Regions from separate parts of the Homo sapiens genome. Here region 2 is linked to region 1. The links are contacts of gene promoters, found by promoter capture Hi-C in blood cells and fetal thymus (Javierre and others, 2016). All regions are on one chromosome and are shown on one strand. The core of a region is centred on a gene start or on the middle of the fragment in contact, and the rest is flanking DNA. Distances in the headings are between cores, read along the strand shown.

What was found. Contacts are between HindIII fragments. The CHiCAGO score rates a contact against its expected background, and 5 or more counts as called.
Region 2: the fragment with the promoter of NT5DC4 here is called in contact with the fragment with the promoter of TTL in region 1 in 4 of 17 cell types (erythroblasts, M0 macrophages, endothelial precursors and 1 more); the score reaches 6.7 in erythroblasts.

What each region holds. Positions count from the first base shown.
Region 1 is chr2:112,480,487-112,483,556 of GRCh38, forward strand. TTL (tubulin tyrosine ligase) reads left to right here and starts at 1,670. Exons shown (of 7, transcript NM_153712.5): 1 at 1,670-2,015. The coding sequence starts at 1,859. RefSeq lists an enhancer at 1,001-1,070 and silencers at 1,391-1,780, 2,341-2,440. The HindIII fragment of the contact is 5,056 bases long and covers 1-3,070 here.
Region 2 is chr2:112,719,657-112,722,356 of GRCh38, forward strand. NT5DC4 (5'-nucleotidase domain containing 4) reads left to right here and starts at 1,364. Exons shown (of 17, transcript NM_001393655.1): 1 at 1,364-1,497; 2 at 2,162-2,235; 3 at 2,330-2,447; 4 at 2,527-2,622. The coding sequence starts at 1,424. The HindIII fragment of the contact is 3,072 bases long and covers 1,331-2,700 here.

The sequences.
Region 1 (3,070 bases), core at 420-2,919:
TTGAGGAGTTCGAGACCAGCCTGGGCAATATGGTGAGACCCTGTCTCAAAAAAAAGTGGGGTGGGGAATAAGTAGTACCGTACAGAACCTACAGCTAAAAGAAACAAAAATGGTGCTCGCTACAAAAAGTGAGAAAAAGGAAAAAGGTAGCTTCTGGATTTGGAAATTCAAAGGTCACTGGTGTTCCTAATGAGATCCACGGTTGTGGAGTGGCAGAGAGAAGCCACCTGTGGCACAGGAGTCGTCAGTAGGAGTCGCAGGAGGAATTGATGCAGCATGGTGGGAGTGGACGTCACTTTCAAGGTGATCAGCCGTGAAGAGCGGCAAACACAGCGTCTTGGCTCGAGTTCCCCCAAACGGTGCCCCCTGGAACAAGAATTTGAGCACGAGTACAGTAGTTTTTTTGGGAGGTGATCCCAGGAAACATCGGTAGTCAGGGAAAGGAAGGAAGCCAACAGAAGATGCCCTGATGAGCAAGTTGCAGCTGTGGACAACCGCAGCCGTGGCCTACAGAGGACCACCGCAATACGCCTAGGACACACGCCTCCCCGCAGGGCACGTGCGGAGGGCGAGAGGGCCAGGGCATTCTCGACCAACTCTATCCCTCGTGGAGGGAGAGCAGCTGGGAAGGAGTGCAAGCACCCAGCACCTCTAAGTCTGCCCCATTTCTGCTCTGAGCGGGCTCTCCACAGCCAGCGGTTGCCTGCAGGTGGAGCCGGTGCGCAAGACAGGCGAGTGAGCGCCTGGCGGCCCCGTGGAATCTGGGCAACGATGGGAAGGAGAAGGGCGCTTTTACAATGTGCTCGGGTAGATACCGTGAGCATCGGGGGACAGGAAGGGGAGAGGCCCCAGGGTGTTCTTTATCTACAGGAGAGTAAAAGATGCAAGGCGCAGGGCTGATGTGGGTAATTTATGAGGGACTGTAGGAAGTTTGGGGGAGCTCTGATGATCATTGCCTTCTCTTTGTATCTCAAATGCAGCAGCACAGTCTTCAGAGTGGGCTATCAGAACCGAAGGGACTTTTAAGAGCCACTCTCCGCCGCTCATAAGGGGAAATCGAGGTCCGGAGAAGGGAAAGCAAGTGGCTGAATGCCGGTAAAAGGCAGGAAAAGAGCGGAGCCCAGGGCTCCAGGGGGTCGGTTTGGGACCTGCTTCCACCAGCAGAGTCTAAGGTCATCCCCTTGGCCGTGCGCCACCCTGGGCTCAGCCGAAGGAAGGAGCACTCGACACAAACAAAACCGACGCTCCGGGTCTCCGTAGTCGTTAAGCAAAGAGGAAGAGGAAGCGCTTCTTCATTAGGCCACAGGACCGGGCCTTAGAACTTTTGGGTTTTATCCATTAAAGGTCCTTTGGCAATAGAAGAAAAACCCAGATCGAGCCCTGCAAACTGGGATCTTCCGCCGGCACCGCCCCCCGGCTGCGACCCGGGGCTCGGAAAGAACCACCCCAGGCCCGGGCTCCGGTTCCACCGCACAGTCCGCCCGCTGCGGTAAAGCCGCGCCCACCGCCGCGGGTCTCCAACCCTGCGCCGCCGCCGCCCCCGGGGGAGGGTACGGAAAGGGCGCGGCGCCGCCGCCCACGGGCTCCTCCAGAGCGCGGCGGGGCCGGGCCGCGCGGAATCACGGGACAGAGGCGGGGCCGCGCCGGCGGGGGCGGGCGTGCGAGCGGCGCTTTCCTCTCCGGCACCCGGCGGGCGCCCGGGCGCGGCGCCGCCGGCACCCGAGAGGCGCGGTAGCCGGCGCGGGCGGCGGGGGCCGGGCCGCGGCGGGCGCCCGGGCGGGGTCCGCGCTGAGCCGCCTTCTCGGCCGCCTGGTCCCTGCGGCGGCTGCCCGGCGGCCCGGGCGCGCGGCGCTTCGCCATGTACACCTTCGTGGTACGCGATGAGAACAGCAGCGTCTACGCCGAGGTCTCCCGGCTGCTCCTCGCCACCGGCCACTGGAAGAGGCTGCGGCGAGACAACCCCAGATTCAACCTGATGCTGGGAGAGAGGAATCGGCTGCCCTTCGGGAGACTGGGTGAGCCCCTCCCCGATTCCCGTCTGCCCTCCTCGGAGCGGCCCTGCGCGCCTCCCGCGGCCCGTTAGAACCGGCGCTTTTGTTTTTAAAGGTCATACATTTTCTCCTCTGTCGCTTGTCGGGCACATCAGAAACGGATTCGGAAAGATCGAAACCTGTCGTTTTTAATGCTTTCTTGTCTCCTAACTTGGATTTAGAGTCGGAGTCGCGGTGCGGCCACTCGGGGCCGCAGCTACCTCCCGACGGTGACCGGTCCCTGCAGCCCGGGAGACGCTGGCCGCCGGGGCTGGGACCTGAGGCGCGAGTCTAGCGGCTCCCCCGGGCCGAAGCCCCCAGATTTGGCGGGTCCGCCGCGCTGGGCGCGGCTCCGCAGAGCGGGCGGCTGGAGTCATCTTTTGCAGCTCGTCTGCACTGAGGATTTCTCCCTGCTTGGCGTGGGCGCGGGCGGGGGAGCCGTAGGTGTTGAAACCCCTGAGGCTTCTGCCCCCCGAAGGCGCGGAGGAGCGATCAGAGGATTTGGAAAAGACCCCCGGATTCCAAAAGCAGGAGCTGCAGAAGAGACCCTAGCCCAGGGAAGTGTGGAGGGATGTCTGATTATAAACCTTTCCTTAGTTTCACCAAATAATGTGTTTTCGCAGTTCTGCATTGGATTAAGATCTTACACGAGGCTGCGTTCGCCCTCCCTGTCTTCCCTGCTCTCCCCGAGGGAATTACCTTCATCCACATGGTTGAAGCTGGCTGGGCACCACCATACCCACATGTCCACGGGTAGGAAAGCGCAGGAGATAGGAGGGGACTAGCGGCTCCTTTGTAAGTGATGTCATCCAGAAGTTGCCCAGATCGGTTCAACTCACATCCTATTGACCTGAGCATAGTCTCATGGCCTCCCTCTCTGCACAGTCATCTGGGAATTGCATCTTCTCTCCGGGGAGCCATGTTCCTTGCCAGAATTCACCAGAGGTGGGGGCCAATTGTATTCCAAAGACAAGGGGAGAATCGATACGGAGGAAGAGTCACCTCTACCTTGGAGGGCAACCCAGAGAGAGCAATGTTCT
Region 2 (2,700 bases), core at 114-2,613, 240 kb after region 1:
GGTATTGTTAGTAGAGATGGGGTTTCACCGTGCTGGCCAGGCTTGTCTCAAACTCCCGACCTAGTGATCTGCCCGCCTTGGCCTCCCAAAGTGCTGGGATTACAGGTGTGAGCCACTGCGCCAGGCCCTTTTCTTTCTTCCTTTCCTTTTCTTCATTTCCTTTCCTTTCCCTTCCTTCCTTCCTTCCCTCCCTCCCTCCCTCCCTCCCTCCTTTCTTTCTCTTTCTTTCTTTCCTTTCTTTCTTTCTTTTTCTTTCTTTCTTTCTTTCTCTTTCTTTCTTTCTTTCTTTCTTTCTTTCTTTCTTTCTTTCTTTCTTTCTTTCTTTCTTTCTTTTTCTTTTCTTTTCTTTTCTTTTCCCTTCCTTCCTTCCTTCCTTCCTTCTTTCTTCCTTTTTCTTTCCCTTTTTATTGACAGGATCTCACTCTGTTGCCCAGCCTGGAGTGCAGCAATCTCGGCTCATTGCAACCTCCAACCCCTGGGTTCAAGCAATTCTCCTGCCTCAGCCTCCCGAGAAGCTGCCAAGAGGCTAATTTTTTTTTTCTCCTGCCTCAGGCTCCCAAGAGGGCAATTTTTTTTTTCTTCGTATTTTTAGTAGAGACAGGGTTTCACCATCTTGGCCAGGCTGGTCTTGATCTCCTGACCACGTATCCACCCACCTTGGCCTCCCAAAGTGCTGGGATTACAGGCGTGAGCCACTGTGCCCAGCCTTGTCTTTCTTTTTAAAAGAGGGCCTGGCACTTCAGTTAAGTCTTTCTGGATGATCCAGGTCACCGCTCCAAATGGAAGTCACATGCTTGGTTGTGGAGCCAGTGGTATGGGCCCTCAGGGAGTATTTAGAACTCTACACTAAATGGCCCCAGTGGTTCTGCTTTTTGACACTTCCTTTTGTACTTTCTGCCACCCCCCCATTCTGAGATCCCAGTTATCTTCCCAATTCTTATAGCCCTTGGCATGCTTCTAGCAATGTCTTCTCTAAATGGCCTTGAGCTGGGAAATTTGATAACCAAATGTGTCAGAATTGTGCATAAAGCAAGAGTACTGAGTTATTTCTTTTATCATGAGTACAGTACGGAGCCTCCTGACTTTGTATCCCGTCATTTGCCTCATTCTGGGTTCTCCGCTACTCTCCAGGCCGCTGAGGTCCATGGATGCATAAGCCCTAGGAATGAGGAGGGTGCAGTGGACATGAATTGCTCTTCCTAGATCCTTGCTGCTTTTGCTCTAGAGAAAAGGATGGGATACCAGAGCCTGTCCTGGCTGACTCCTCCCTCAAAGGGGCTCGGGGGAGATGGGAGCACAGGGTGGGGCCAGCTGGGTCAGTGGTGCCTGAAGCTTCTGAGGGAGAGGAGAGTGGCTGGGCCCCACTGATAGTGTGCAGGAGGCTGAGGAAGGGACACTTGCCTCCTCCTCACTCTGGGTGACGATGGCCAGTGTAGACTGGAGAGAGCCGGAGGGACTGGTCTCCCCTCAAGGCCCGAAGCAGGACTGGCACCAGCGGTGAGATGGGCACCTGGGGTGGGGGCCAGGGGTCTCAGCCCATAAACACCCCACACGCCACAGCAGCACACAGGGGCTCCTTTAAATACACAGCTATGGGGACTCCCAAAATGCAGACGTACACTTGCACTCACAAGGGACGCACTTCCATAGCTGTAACAACCCATCAGGGAACTGACCACACACACTCCGGCGGGAGGTCCTCTTCACTTCCTTCCCTCCACGAAGATCTCTCCCCTTCACCACGGACACAGTGACATGTGCTATCCAATTGTGACAAACACATCATCTCTGAATTTGGACACTGGGGTCCCATTTCAGAAGGTGACAACCCTCACACCAACAACTGCACCTACTTTCTTACAGGGTTGGATGCCTATAACATGCCTGCATGGTGGGACAGCAAGCGGCTGATTGCCCGCACACACTCAGATGCACGCTTGCACACATGCTCACACATGCTTACATGCACACTCACACTTGCCTTCAGACACACATGGGTCCAGGCAGGGCCCTGGCTTGGCCTGACCTGCTTCCCCTGTGCTTTCTGCAGCTGCAGGGGGTGCTCTGCCCTCCTCTGCGGGGTTTCCACCCCCTCTGTCCTTGGGCCTTGGATTCTGGGGGGCTGGTGGACTGATGCCAACATCCTCCTCTCTCTCCCCAGGATTTTTGTCAACCGCAGCCTGGCGCTGGGGAAGATTCGTTGCTTTGGCTTCGACATGGACTACACTCTGGCTGGTAGAGAGGGCTGGAACACAGCGTATTGGGAGCTGGAGGGAGCAGGGGTGGGCAGCTGGGCACCAAAGCCCTGATTCTGTCCGGGCCTCTGCAGCCTACAAGTCCCCAGCTTATGAGGCCCTGACCTTCGAGCTGCTGCTGGAGCGCCTGGTGTGCATTGGGTACCCGCATGAGATCCTGCGCTACACCTACGACCCCACCTTCCCCACCAGGTGTGTGGCTCAGGACAGGTGGGAGGCCACCCGGCCTTGGTACCCCCACCCACAGTGCCCCCCGACCCCCCGTCTGCAGGCGGCTGGTGTTCGATGAACTCTATGGGAACCTGCTGAAGGTGGACGCCCACGGGAATGTGCTGCTGGGTGCCTATGGCTTCACCTTCCTCTCGGAGTAAGGGACAAAGGTGCCGGGAGAGTGGCAGGCCAGGAGGGGAGGACTGCTCACCTTGGGGGAGGACAGAGGGAGGGA